2 separate regions of the Homo sapiens genome follow, and region 2 is linked to region 1. The links are contacts of gene promoters, found by promoter capture Hi-C in human tissues and cell types (Jung and others, 2019). All regions are on one chromosome and are shown on one strand. The core of a region is centred on a gene start or on the middle of the fragment in contact, and the rest is flanking DNA. Distances in the headings are between cores, read along the strand shown. Region 1 holds the start of RCOR1 (REST corepressor 1). Region 2 holds the start of TNFAIP2 (TNF alpha induced protein 2).

Region 1 (6,866 bases), core at 1-2,500:
AGGCAGGCGCCCTCTGGAAAACACACTTCTTTTATTGACTGGTTTTGGGGGGTCGTTCTTCTACTCGCCTTCTGGATGGGAGGGCAGTCAGGAGCCAGCAAGAGCCCAGAGGCTGAGAGGAGGAGCAAAGGCGTGGGGAGCAGCCTTTGGGAAGGGTTCCGAGAAAGGGGTCTCTGGGGACCTCCTAAGTCCGGGGCGCTCGCAGGACACTAACTCTCCGGCACTGCCACCCTTACCCCTGGCCGAGGCGCAGCTCACCTGGACGCAGGGACCCCCAGCGCCCCCAGGCCAGGTGTGGCCACCTCCGACGCCACCCGCAGTCCTCGGAGGCGCAAGGGGGCAGCGGCGCCGGCCCTGCTGGGGGCGACCTGGCCTCCCCCGGGTGCAGAGGCACGTTTGCAGAACACTCGTGTGCGTGTGCGCCTCCTCGTCCTCGCCCTGCTGTTCTCCCCACGGACGGCAGGGCGAACGCACAAAAAGAAAGTTGTCGGCGGGCTCCCGCCCCCTCGGGCTCGCCGGGGACCCGGGGCTCCCGCTCATCCCCGCCGCCGGCCGGCCGGGGCCGCTACTCACCGGGGTCGAAGTCGGGCACCACCGCCTGGTACTGGGGTCCGACCCTCATGCCACCGCCACCTGCGGGGGAAGCAGAATACGGCGGTCAGCGCGGCGCGGGGCGCGGGGCCCGGGGCCGCGGGGGCGGCTGCCACCTACCGTGCTCCTCGTCGCTGGACGAGCCCGAGCTGCCTTCCTCCCAGGAGTTGCTGCTGCTGTTGCCATTGGGCGCCGCCGCCGCCAAACTTTTATTCTGGCCATTATTGGGGGCGGCGGCGGCTGAGGCGGCGGCGGCCGAGGCTGAGGAGGCGGCGGCGCCCGAGGCGGCAGTGGCGGCTGGCGAGGCGCAGGCGGCCGAGGCGGCGGCGGAGGCGGCGGCGGCGGAGGCGGAGGCGGCCGCGTTGTTCCTCCCTCTCCGCTTCCCTGAGACCTCGGGGCCCTTCTCCACCATGGCCGGCATCGGCGGGGGCCGGGGCCGTGCGAAAGTGGCGGGGACCCGCGGCTCCTGAGGAGGGGGCGCCGAGACGGGGGAGGGGGCGCGGGGCCGGCGCGGGGCCGGGCGGGCGCGGCGGGAGCCCACGGGCGCGAGTCCGAGTCGGGGGAGGCCCAAACGGGCAGAGCGCGGAGCCGCTTCAAGCCCCCAGCGACGAGCCGAGCGCAACTTTCGCTCTCATCGCCGCCCTCACTTCACTGGCACCAACTACTCCGGGAGCAGCGAGCGGAGAGGGGAGGAGGCAGGGGCGGGGCCTGCAGGGGCGCCGGGGGAGGGGGGCGCGCAGCCCAACTGACGCGAGATGGCTCCGCCCCCCCTCGCGCTCCCATTGGCTCTGGTGGGATTTGGACAGCCAGCGGCAGCGGGGTTGGCTCCGCGCGCCCGTCCGTCCGGGGCGGCGGGGCGGGGGAGCGGGGAGGGGCGGCTCCGGGCTTCCGTTGGCGAGGTTCGGTTGACGCGTATCGCCCGCCGTACGTGGTTTGAGGTTTGCCATCTCCCTACGCCCCATGATCCATCTCTCCAGGCAGCGGCGAGGAGTTCGCGGCCCTCCCCGCCCCCTACCCTTGGCCGCGGCCCCTGCCCTTGCTGCCCGCGCACGCCTCCCGCAGCCTCTGGCCCCCCATCTGAAGGACCCCGCTGAGAGTCCCGTCGACTTCTCAAAGTAAAATGTGTCTGGCGCTGGGAAGCCGCGGAGCGCCCGGCCGGGACTACTTTCCGCTGCGCGGAGGAGTACGGGCGCGCTAAGACTCCATACAAAGAGGAAACTAATTGGGGGAAACTCGCTGCGCCCCCGCCTTTCCCAGGGGACGCGGGGCTGGCGGGGGCGGGGGCCGCGGCGCGGGGGACGGGCTTCCCAGGCGGCCGCCTCCCCTGGCGCGAGCTGCGTGGGGACTCGGGTCTGCGGTGCTGCCCGCTAATTGGGTGGGGGAGGCCGGGGCCCCCGGGGTGGCTTGGGTGCGGGGTGCGCCGCGGCTTCAGAGGCCCAAGGGAGGGTCCCCGTGGGTCCCCGGGGCACAGAGTCCCGGCGTGGGGACGCCCAAGCCGCCTGGGTGGCCGCTGAAAGATGAATGAAGGGGCCCAGTCGTCCTGGGGCGGGGGTCCAGGAAGGGTAAAGAGGAAGAAGCTATTTTCATCCCAAGCTCTCGGCACGGGAGGAGGGTCAACTTCTTTCGGGGCGAGGGCAGCCACTTTTCCGGACCTGCCGCCCGCCCCGCCTCCCTACTCCCCCCGGCACCCCCACGAGGGAGAACACGGGGTGCGGGCGGGTGGGGTAGGCTGAGGCTAGCCTGAGAGCCGCTGCCTTGGAGAGGGACCACCGGGCAGCCGTACAGCTGTTAGGAGGCTGAGGAGTGTAACTGCCTTGGAGGTCCCGGTGCCCTACCCCCAGCCAACCCTGAAACTACGCGCCCTTCGTAATTAGACCAGTGGAGGTCTATACGGAAAATCTTTTTAAAGCAGGGAAGGCTATTTTTCTTTTAAGTTACTTCAAACCTGAGCTTAATTTGGGGACTAGCTCTGGATATAAATAGCTACAGGGAGAATTTGGGAGTTTTATGGTTTTAAAGCCTGAGTAAATAAGCAGGGTTTTGTCTTGAACATTTTCTGCAGCATGAACCATTATTAACTTTATTGAAGAGACCACGTTCACTTCTGCCTAAATGGCCTTTAAGAAACAGGGCTGGGAGCCCTCCTGGTATAGAAGCCCTTCCCCCACCAAGTTCAGGTGGGGGACTTAGACTTTTAGACTCTCCTCAAAAGTACGTCCCTCTCCTTGGAGTGCCCTGGATGCTGCAGGTGTGTGCCCCAATACACCCTGTCAGCTGGCCTGGGCAGGGTACAGAACCGGGGTGGCATTCCCGGGGCTGGGCCACCGGCTAAGGCCTCTGACTCATCCGGAGGTGAGCCCTGTGTGAGGAATGAGGTCCAGAACACGCTGCCCCGCTCGCTTGGTGTCTACAAAGTTCTGCCACGAGACTAGAAGGATCAACCTACAAGGGCACAAAGGTGATACTGGGTCATTAAGGCAATAGGGATAGCAGAGCACACAAGGCCGCCCTCTCCACCCACCAGCCCCCAAGGCTGAGGCCAGGCTGGGCTACCAGTAGGGGCGCAGCAGTGGACTTGACAAGCATTCTTTTTTTTTTTTTTCCAACGAATATTAACACTTAATATGTGCCGGGCCCTGTTCTATTTTGTCTGACCCTAATGCTACACCGATACTGTATTGGCCTGAAGCTCTCAGATTTACCAACCGTAAAATACAGGAAACAGTACCTACCTCCTGGCCTGATGGACTGTAATAGAGTCCATCCTTCCAGCATAGGGAACCCCAACGTTAAGGACACTCGCCTTCCCATCGCTTGGGGAGAGGGCTCCACACACAGCCCTGGGATTGGGAATTTGTGATCCCACACTTCTAACGCATCCACAAAGCCGGCAGCCCTATCATGTTTTTCGGTGAGACTCCCACTCTGAAAGTGAGACCTCATGCCTGCTCCCCTCTCCTTACACCTCCCACAGCCCCTTCTGCCTGGGCTCCTAGCCCGTGGCCTTACCTCATTCTTCAGAGAAAAACGAAAGCCTTCAGGATCTTTCTCCTCTCCCAGTACCCAAACAGACAAACTTCCCTGTCGGGTACTCACGTCCTCCTCAGGCCTAGGACCCCATCCCGCTGCCCTCCCCTCGAGGCTTTTCTGTGCCATCAGCCTCACTCTGGACCGACTCCTGCCCCCAAACCCTCTCCTGCCTCTGGCCATTTCTCCCTCCCTTCAGACATTTCTGTAGACTTCCCTACACTCACCTCCTCCACCCCTTCCCGTCCCAGCCTCTCATCACCCCATCCAGCAGGGCTGTGTCCCCACCCCTTAACTGCTGCTAAGGTAACCTACAACCTCTCCGCTGCCCAATCCGGGGGTCACTTCTTGGTCTCGCTGAGCTTCTCAGCAGCAGCTGAGTCGACCACTCCTCCTCCTGGAAACCCTCACTTATCTGGACCTGGGGATTCCAGTTCACCTGGTCCTGCTACCTCACAGGTCACTCCCCATCAGTCTCCTCTGCAGCTTTCAACCTGTCATCGTTGGGATTCCTCCTTGCCTTTTTCCTTTCATTAATTTTTTTTTTATCCAGAGTCTCACTCTGTCGCCCAGGCTGGAGTCCAGTGGCACGATCTGGGCTCACTGCAACCTCTGCCTCAGCCTCCCGAGTAGCTAAGATTACAGGCACCCGCCACTACACCCGGCTAATTTTTGTATTTTTAGTAGAGACGGGGTTTCACCATATTGGCCAGGCTGGTCTTGAACTCCTGGCCTCGTGATCCGCCCGCCTCGGACTTCCAAAGTGCTGGGATTACAGGCTTGAGCCATGGCGCCCGGTGACATAGCGAGATCCCGTCTGTATAAAACAAAAACAAAAAAAAAAACTGTGACCCTATGACCATCTCGTCCCCCCACCCTAAAAAAAAACAAAAACTATGACCATGACCATCTCATACCCCACCCTTATAGATGAGAAAGCTGAGGCACCCAGAAGTGAAATATCTTCCTAGGATCAGGCATGATATGAGGGGAGGAGCCGGGGCACAGCTAAGCCAGGAGCTATGGAGCCTCTTAACCAAGGCCAGAGTTGCCCCAGGGATTCTGGGACGGCCAGGGGCAAGGGTGTCTGCAACATGCTTGGTCTGATGCTAAACATACAGTGTTTATAATTTTGTATTCATTGTATTTTCCCAGAAAAAGGGAAGGGAAAAGAGTCAGCATGTGTTATAAAATGATTAGAAAATGGGAAAGGAAGTACCTGGTACAGCAAAATCAACCATCAAATGAACATACCCCAGTGATGGAGTCATCAAAGCCCAAAGGGGCTCCGTCTCCTTCAGTTCAGGAATGAAGGGAAGGGATCAGGAAAAGGAGAGACGGGTACAGGCTTTCCTACCCCAGTGTTTATAGTTCTTCCTGCTGCTAATTATTATTATTACTATATTTGGGCTTGTTAGAAAATTCTGTTTGGCAAGGAATTCCTTTCCCAAGAATGGAGCCAGGCAGAGGGCAGGGTATGGGCCAGGGCTGGGAAGTGTCAGGAAAACACCCTAAAGCCATTCCTGGGAGGTTTCAAGCCCCCAAAGGACTATTGGAAAACTGAGACTTCAGGCTGGAATTTTAGCCATCCTAAGAGTTCTGAACCTGGAATCCATGGATAGAATTCTGGAGACCATGAACCAGAGCTGGTAAATACATCTTTATTTAAATTAACCTTTAACACCAAGTGCGGTGGCACTCACTTATAATCCCAGGTACTTTGAGGCCTCCAGCAAGACCCCTGTCTCAAAAAAAAAATCAACCTTTAACCAAAATCCAGCATTTTCTTCACTTATGAATGTAGGTGATATTCCATCTCAACACATTGCAGTCACTGGAAATATCTCAAAATAGCATTTATTTATTTATTTTATTTTTATTTTATTTTTTGAGACAGAGTCTTGTTCTGTCGCCCAGGCTGGAGTGCAGTGGCATGATCTCAGCTCAGTGCAACCTCCCGGGTTCCAACTATTTTCCTCCCTCAGGCTCTGAGTAGCTGGGATCACAGGCACCCACCACCACGCCCAGCTAATTTTTGTGTTTTTAGTAGAGATGGGGTTTCACCATGTTGGCCAGACTGGTGTCGAACTCCTGACGTCGTGATCCGCCCACCTTGGCCTCCCAAAGTGCTGGGATTACAGGCATGAGCCACCGCGCCCAGCCTCAAAATAGCACGTATACTCGTCTCCAAAATCACAGAAGTTATTAGACCCACTGCTAGAACTTGTTACTTAATATGTTAATAACTAAGCAAGTAAATCGTAGACCTAATTGTAAGACCTAATTGTAAAACTATAAAACTGTCAGATGAAAACCTAAATCTCTGTGACCATGAGGTAGGCAAAGTCTTCTTGATTACGATGCCAAAAGGATAAGGAACAAAAGAGAAAAATTGGAATTCATAAAAATTAAAACTTGTGTGGGTGAGCATGGTGGCTTACGCCTGTAATCCCAGCACTTTGGGAGGCTGAAGCGGATGGATCACCTGAGGTCGGGAGTTCGAGACCAGCCTAACCAACATGGAGAAACCGCGTCTCTCCTACAGATAAAAATTTTGCTGCAGATGGTGGCAGGCTCCTGTAATCCCAGCTACTCGGGAGGCTGAGGCAGGAGAATCACATGAATACAGGAGGCGGAGGTTGCAGTGAGCAGAGATTGCGCCATTGCACTCCAGCCTGGGCAACGAGCAAAAACTCCGTCTCAAAAAAACAAACAAAAAAAAGATTAGCTGTGGCTGGATGCGGTGGCTTACGCCTGTAATCCCAGCACTTTGGGAGGCCAAAGCGGGCAGATCACGAGGTCAGAAGATCAAGGCCATCCTGGCCAACATGGTGAACCCCATCTCTACTAACAATACAAAAATTAGCTGGGTATGGTGGTGCATTCCTGTAATCCCAGCTATGGGGTGGCTGAGGCAGGATAATCTCTTGAACCAGGTAGTCGGAAGTTGCAGTGAGCGGAGATCACGCCACAGCACTCTAGCCTGGCAACAGAGTGAGACTCCGTCTCAAAAAAAAAAAAAAAAAAAAAGATTAGCCAGGCGCGGTGGTGGGTGCCTGTAATCTCAGCTACCTGGAGGCTGAGGCAGGAGCATCACTTGAACCTGGGAGGCAGAGGTTGCAGTGAGCCAATATCGCCCCCCATTGCAGCCTGGGTAACAGAGCGAGACTCCTGTCTCAAAAAAAAAAAAGGCCAAGAAACTCATGCAAAGATGCTCAATGTTAGCCGTCAGGGAAATGAAAAAACCA
Region 2 (6,866 bases), core at 1,799-4,298, 530 kb before region 1:
TGCCCCAGCCTCCAGGGGTGGCACCAGGTCCTCAGAGGAGGCCTCCGACATGGAGGCCTCTGACTCTGCCTCTGATGTGGACTGCAACTTTTGGGGGCCTCTAGGCAAGTCGAGGGTGCCTGGCACAGGCTGATGGCTCTAGAGGCCTTGGAAGAAGGTCATCATCTTCAGCATCACCCTGGTTCAGGCCTGCAGGCTCCTGCGGGGTGGGGGTGAAGGCATCAGTGGTCACCATGGACCGGCCCTGGCTCCCAGGCTGGACACACAGCTATGCTGGCTGCATTGAGTACACTCAGTCTGTTTCACCCATTCAGCCACCGGGGCTCTGCTCATCTCCTGGCCCAGATGAGCACCAACAACTGTGCTTCCTCCCTGGCCACGAGCATCTCACCATCTACAGCTCCCCTTCCAATACTTCACAGCCCCAGAAGCAAGGAAGAGGCTGGGGACGCCAAGCCCGCCACACAGAGGGGGACTTTCACTTTACTTGGGCAAATCCTTCCCTGCCAGCCCACCCTCTGGGCAGGAAGCAGGCAATGGACACCTCCCTGGATCCCACGGGACCCTAGGGAAGAGGCGGGGCATGGGCTCTGTCCCTTTGGACAGAGCAGGAACAGAGGTCCAGAAAGGTCTGGGACATGCCGGGGTCTAGAACACCAGAACCGGCCTGAGACTGGAACCCAGCCTCCTCCTGCCCAGACCCAGCCCCTCTGCCATCTTGTCCAGTTCTGATCCAGCGGTGGGGTCACAGAAACACAGCTGCTCCAGCTGGGCCATGAAAGGGGCAGAGCCTGACCAGGATCTACAGAAGCCACAGTGGGTGGGACCTCAGACAGCCTTTCACACATCACTGGGGCAAGGGGCTCAGCAAGTCACAGGGCGGCCTGAAGTCACACAGCAACTCGGGTCCAGAACCCAGGCTTCCTGGCTCCCACCCCCTCCCAAATGGGATCGTAGCATCATCACAAAGGCTTCCAGTTTCTGCAGCCTTCCTGGGTGCCCATCCCATCTCTTCCTTTCTCTCATCTGGAAGGGTGTTATTTCGGCTTAAACTGTCCCTATAGTCAATAGCTTGGGCTTGGAACTCAGGCCACCCGGTCCCAGAGCCCAGCTTTCCCCTGCCTCCACATCCCCAGCTATCCTGCAAGCTACATCCAGAGAGGCAAGACCCGAGCTTCCCCAGAGTCCCTGCCCAGCACCTGACCATTGTCAGAGCAAGGCCAGGTCCACTGGAGAAGAGCATGGCTGATCTGAAAGGGGGAAGCAGGCAGGGGCTGGGCCTCCCCAAGAACTGGGGTGACCTGTAACCTTGATGCCACCTGTCTGCCCCACCCCAAGACTAAATGCATGCAGCCTTGTCTCATGTATCATGGTAACTTCAAGTGACCCCTGAAACAGCCCTGCAAGGCAGGCAGGATGATCCACCATCCAGAAGGAGAAACTGAGGCTGAGTAGGAGGTGTTTGCCCCAAGCACAGCAGCCATGGAGGCTCAGACTGGGCCCATCCGACTCTTCCCATGGCCCCGCTGCCTCCACCAGCCCCACTACCCTGTCCCCATCCTGGAGGGGCTTGGCCAGAGCCACCTGAGGGACAGGAAGCCTGGGCTCCTCCCACCCCCAGCCCCTGCCATGCTCACCCAGTGCCCTGGGCAGAGTCCCACACTCCTGGATGGCACTGGCCTCCCTAGTGCCATTTGGGTTGAGCATTCCACTCCAGGACCAAGAGGGGCATGCTCCAGGGAGCCCCAGGGGCAAGGCCATGGGGCACCTCTGCTCCCCACCCGGTGCCCCAACTTCGCTTCCCAGCCCCTCTCAGGTGCATGCCTAGCACCCGCGGGAGCTGGTCTGTCTGGCAGGGCCACTCAGCCCCACCCTGGGTGCCCAGGCCCCACCTCTGCCATTCTCCTGGGGTGGGGGAGGGTGGCCCTTACCAGCAATGCTCCCTGCCAGCCTCACCTCAGCCTTCCCTGTCCCACCCCACATGTACTAGGCTCTGTCCCACCTCCAGGCACAGCTCCCGCAGGACCCCCACAGCATCACCGCCTTCTCCCCTCTGTGACACGAAACCCAGAGCGCCTGAAGGTCCTGCTGCAGCCCCCTGGGCCTCGCCCCAGGTCTCCGCTCTCCGAGGCAGCTGGTGCCATGGAAAGAGAAACGCTTTCGGTGTGGGCTCAGCACACTTCTCACTAGTGTGTGGACTGCACACCTCCTTCCTTCACAAGCCGCCGTTTCCCCGTCTTTGAAAAGGGGATGAGGACCCCCACCCCACAGTGCTGCTGAGGGGATGTGGCCAAACCGCACAGCCAAGTGCTGGGCGCCTAGCTGGGCCTCAGTGGGGGTGAGTCTCCTGTGTCCTGAGTCTGTCCTGCAGGCAGCAGCGAGCCGGTGCAGCCAGAAAGGAAGAAGGGGAGGAGGGGCGTTCCTTTGAGCCTTGCCGCTGGTTGGGCCCACTGAGGCAGGAAGGGGCCTGCTGGGAGGCTCGTAGAGGGGTCACAGCCAGTGGCTCAACAGCGCCCCCCAGCCTCCTGCTGCCCGGCCTCTCCTCAGGTCCACTGACCTGGCTCGCCTTCCCCGTCAGGGCTGATGTCCACACACCTCCCGGGAGCTCGCTGGGCCCGGCTCCTTCAGTCCTGGGCAGGATGTGGAAGGCGCACCCATCCCCCGATGAGGACACCCGGGCACGGGCGAGGAAGTGACTCGGCCTGTGTCGCCCGGCCGGGGAGTCACGCCGGACCTGGGGCCTTTCTGCTGTAATGGAGGGGAGACCCCTGCGCCTGCCCCAGCCCCGCCCTCCCTGCCTCTGGCAGGCCCGGGCCCTCAGCCAGCCTTGGCCCCTCTGCGCCCGGACGCGCGGACGCTGGGCGCGCCAGGGCCTCAGTTTCCCTGGAAGCGTCCAGCCCCCTCCTGTCCCCGCCGCGGCGACAGGCTCTTTCCTCGGGGAATCCGGCCTGGCCTCGGGGTAGGGGCGGGCGAGAAGCCGCGCGGAGCGGCGGGGAATGGACGTGTGGAAGCGGAGGTCACTTACCGTGTCCCGGCCTGGCCGCCACTGTCCTGGCCCGGGTTCCGCAAGGCCTGAAATAGTCGCAGAGTCAGCCCCGCCCCGCCCGCCCCTCCTTCCCCGCCCCGCCGCAACCGCGGAAAACCCGCGGGCGGAGGCCAAGGCCCAGCGCGGCCCGGCTGTGTCCCTGCGTCCCAGGGGCTGGGCGCGCCCGGCCTGCCCAGCGGGGGATGCGGGGCGCTGTCACTTCCTCCCAGCAGCCGGGCAGGGGCGGGGGGCTGGCCGCGCGTCGCATGGTATGTGGAGTTCGGGGGACGGCACGGGGACGACGGGGTTGTCAGGCGCGGAGCCATTGTCCGACGACGGCTCCTGATAGGCCGCCTGGATGGGGCGCGCTTGGCCGCGTTCCCGCGTCACACACCGGCTCCAGCTGCGGGAGAGCCCGTCCCACCCCAACTCCCCAGCCGCCCCTCTGAAGTGTTCCGGTGTCACCGTGGCCACAAGGAGGCAGGGGACGGGGGCTTCCTGAAGGAGGCCCCCTAAGGGGAAGGGGGCTACAAGGCTGGCCAGAGTGCTGGCCGCGCGGCTGTGCACAGGGCCTTGAGCCCCTCCGGTCGTCAAGCCTTGCTTGAAATGCGTAAATGCGGAAAGGTGAAGTGGCTGACCCGGCTCACACCACTTTAAGTAGCGGAGTGGGGTTCCTAGCCAGGCCTATGGGACTCCCACTGGAGCCTTTCCCCCTCTGGGGCTGGGGCTGGACCCACAGGCTGCCGGAGCAGGCAGAAGGGGAGGGGCCCAAGGCCCAGACTCCAGGGCCTCGTCTGGATCATCAACCCGGCTTTGCCCATTCAGCGCAGGCCTCCGTTTCCAGGCCTGTCTCCCCATCCACACCGTCTCTCAGGGTTTGTTTTGGGAGATGTGGGGGTGGGGCATGTGGGGAGGATGGAAAGGGGCTGTGAAGGGAACCCACTGGAGATTCACTTCCTTCCTTATTTCACACTCTAGGCTAGGAATTCCTGCCCTCTGGAAAGGACCCAGACATTTAGGAATTTCCCGCTGGGCAGGGGCTTCCCTCCTGCCTCACTGGGGCCTCTGCTCCTCCCCTCTTTTGTTTGGCCTCTTTCCCCGCCCCCTGATCACTCCGCCACCCCTTCTGCAGCCTAGTAACAGGTCTTCCAGGACCAGGGGGGCCAGCGGAGTGGGGGCGGCTGTGGGTTCAGGTGCCCTGGGAACTGAGAACTTCCTCTTCCAGAGTGCTGGCCAAGCGCCAGGTTTGCACTCGGATTGCCATCCATCATCCTGTCTCTGGGGAACCTGTGGGGGAGCGGATGCGGGAGGCCGCCAGGATGCAGGATGGGGCGTTAAGGCTGCCAACCCCACCCCTTCTCTCCTAGGACTCCAGGGATGACATTTTTCAGATGAGTCCACAGAGCCGCGGTGTCCCGGGGCTGGGAGGGTCCTTCCACCGGCACCGCGCAGATGGAGTTCATCCACACAGGGGCGATGAGGATACGGGCTGAGGGGCCCTGGCCGGTGGCTGCCTTCACGGCTGGCTGCTGTGGCCTCATTGTGCAATCCCCACAAGCCTCTCCTGCCAGACTCTGTTCCCCCACCCCACCCCCTCACCCCCCCTCCCATTCCCAAGCAGATCGGGAAATTGCTCGGGAAGTCTGCATCTGCCAGGAGGGCGTTGTCAGGCCTTAGGCCCCACTGTCCCCTCGAAGGCAGCCCCTGGTCTCCACGGGCTTTGCAGGGCTGAGGCGGGGCTGCCACCCTTGTCCCCCACTGACGGCAGTGGCCCGCCCAGAGCACCGGCTGGGGATTGGGAAACGAGGCTGCTGCCTTGGACTTGTGTCTGCACCAGTCACTTCCCCTCTCTAAGCTCAGGCATGAGGGTCAATGGTAACATACGTGAAGTCCTCAAGACAAGGAAAGTCTTCTGAAAATGGGGCAGCATGGAGGCCCAAGGGATGACAGCCAATGGGGCCCATAGGGCAGGAGCAGTCCTTACCCTCTTCTCGCAGATGCAGAAAGCAGTTCCCAAGAGGCCAGGCACTTCCAGAGGAGCCAAAGGCCAGCCTACGGCTCCTCCCCAGCAGGAAGCCAGCATCACATGCTGGGTGGCGATGTTTGTGACCAGTGGCCAGCGGCTGTCCCATTCCCCAGCTCCCCAGGGCACAGGCCAGGGGCAGTGAGCAGGGGGCTCTGCCTGGTGGGGAGGGCAGCAGACAGGAGCAGACTGGCAATGACCTCTCCATTTAGCCTAGAAGGCGAGTGTGCCAGCACCTGGCCAGGAGCCACGGTCAGCTCCTCGCACGCAACCCAGGGCCTCAGAGGCTACGACACATGGGATGTTCCCTCCCTTCTGTCTGCCAGAGCAATGACAGCTGACTGTTTAAAAATTATTATGGTACAATATACATAATGCAATTTATAATCTTTTAAGTGCACAGTTCAGTGGCATTAAGTATATTCACAGGGTCGTGCAACCAACAGCACCCTCCACCTGCAGAAATCGTCACCTGGCAAAACGGAAACTCTACCCACTATGCACTAACTCCTCTTTCCCTCTCCTCCGGGCCCTGGCAACCGCCATTCTACCTTTCGTCTCTGTGGTCTTGACTATTCTATGTACTGCAAATAAATAGAGTCACACAGCGTTTATCCTTTTGTGTCTGCATCTGCCAGGAGGGCGTTGTCAGGTTTATTTCACTCAGCATAATGCCTTCAAGATTCATTCATGTGGTAGCAGGTATCAGAATTCCCTTCCTTTTTGAGGCTGAATCATATTCCATTGTATGGATGGGCTACACTGTGCATTCATTCATCTCTCTGTGCACACTGGGATTGCTGCTACCTCTTGGCTGCTGTGTACAGTGCTGCTATAAAACATGGGTGTGTATACCAGGTGTGGTGGCTCATGCCTGTAATCCCAGCACTTTGGGAGGCCCAGGCGGGTGGATCGCTTGAGCTCTGGAACTCAAGATCAACCTGGGCAACATAGTGAGACCCTGTCTCCACCAAAAATACAAACAATTAGCCAGGTGTGATGGGGTGCACCTGTAGCCCCAGCTACTTGGGAGGCTGAGGTGGGAGAACCACCTGAGCCTGGCAGGTTAAGGCTGCAGTGAGCCATGATTGCACCACTGCACTCCAGCCTGGGCAACAGAGTAAGACCCTGTCTCACAACAAAAACAAACAAACAAAAGAACACGGGTATGCAAATATCTGTTCACGTTCCTGCTTTCAATTCTTTTGGGTAGACTGCTGATGTTTGTTGATCTCCACCGGTGCCAGGCGTTGTTCTAAGTGTTTTGTATACATTAGCCGATTTCATCGGACAGCCTAATGAAGTGGGCACTAACTCTCTTCTTTTCACAGATGAGGAAACTGAGGCACAGAGCGGTCCAGTCATGTGCCAGCCAGTGGTGAAGCTAGGAGCCCCTTCACTAAGCACAGTGTTATCTTGCTTCTCCTCCAACGTTGCTCAGCGTCTGAAATTCAGCTTGATGTATTTAAGTCAGACACAAGAAAGGACTTCTAGACCAAGGAGTTTAGATGCAGAAATGGGAGGTACTATCCTTCACTCCTTTTTCACCTTGAAAAAAATTTTTCCCAATCTTTTTCATTACCTCATTTAGTCCATTAATTAAACCTCCACCTGCGCCCTGTAGGGCAGCAGAAAAGGCCGATTCAGCACGGACCAGAGAATAACACAGGGAGGCACATTACTGGCCCTCTCTCTGCATTCTTGAAGGCACCTAGAGGAAAGCTCTCTAGAAGAGGGGCAGTTGGGGCTGGGCATGGTGGCTCACCCCTGTAATCCCAGCATTTTGGGAGGCCAAGGCGGGCGGATCACCTGAGGTCG

Evidence for each region. Contacts are between HindIII fragments. The study calls those that stand out against the background at their distance.
Region 2: the fragment with the promoter of TNFAIP2 here is called in contact with the fragment with the promoter of RCOR1 in region 1 in 1 of the 25 tissues and cell types used here (lymphoblastoid cells).

Annotation. Positions count from the first base shown.
Region 1 is chr14:102,587,033-102,593,898 of GRCh38, reverse strand. RCOR1 (REST corepressor 1) reads right to left here and starts at 1,250. Exons shown (of 12, transcript NM_015156.4): 1 at 712-1,250; 2 at 574-633. The coding sequence starts at 1,012. RefSeq lists silencers at 274-883, 944-2,253 and enhancers at 1,832-2,647, 2,929-2,978. The HindIII fragment of the contact is 11,930 bases long and covers 1-6,866 here.
Region 2 is chr14:103,119,643-103,126,508 of GRCh38, reverse strand. TNFAIP2 (TNF alpha induced protein 2) reads right to left here and starts at 3,048. Exons shown (of 12, transcript NM_006291.4): 1 at 2,558-3,048; 2 at 1-199. The coding sequence starts at 51. It overlaps LINC00677 (long intergenic non-protein coding RNA 677), which reads left to right and starts at 3,600. Exons shown (of 2, transcript NR_138038.1): 1 at 3,600-3,900; 2 at 5,478-5,660. RefSeq lists silencers at 2,757-2,806, 3,107-3,386 and enhancers at 3,051-3,584, 3,585-4,117. The HindIII fragment of the contact is 20,075 bases long and covers 1-6,866 here.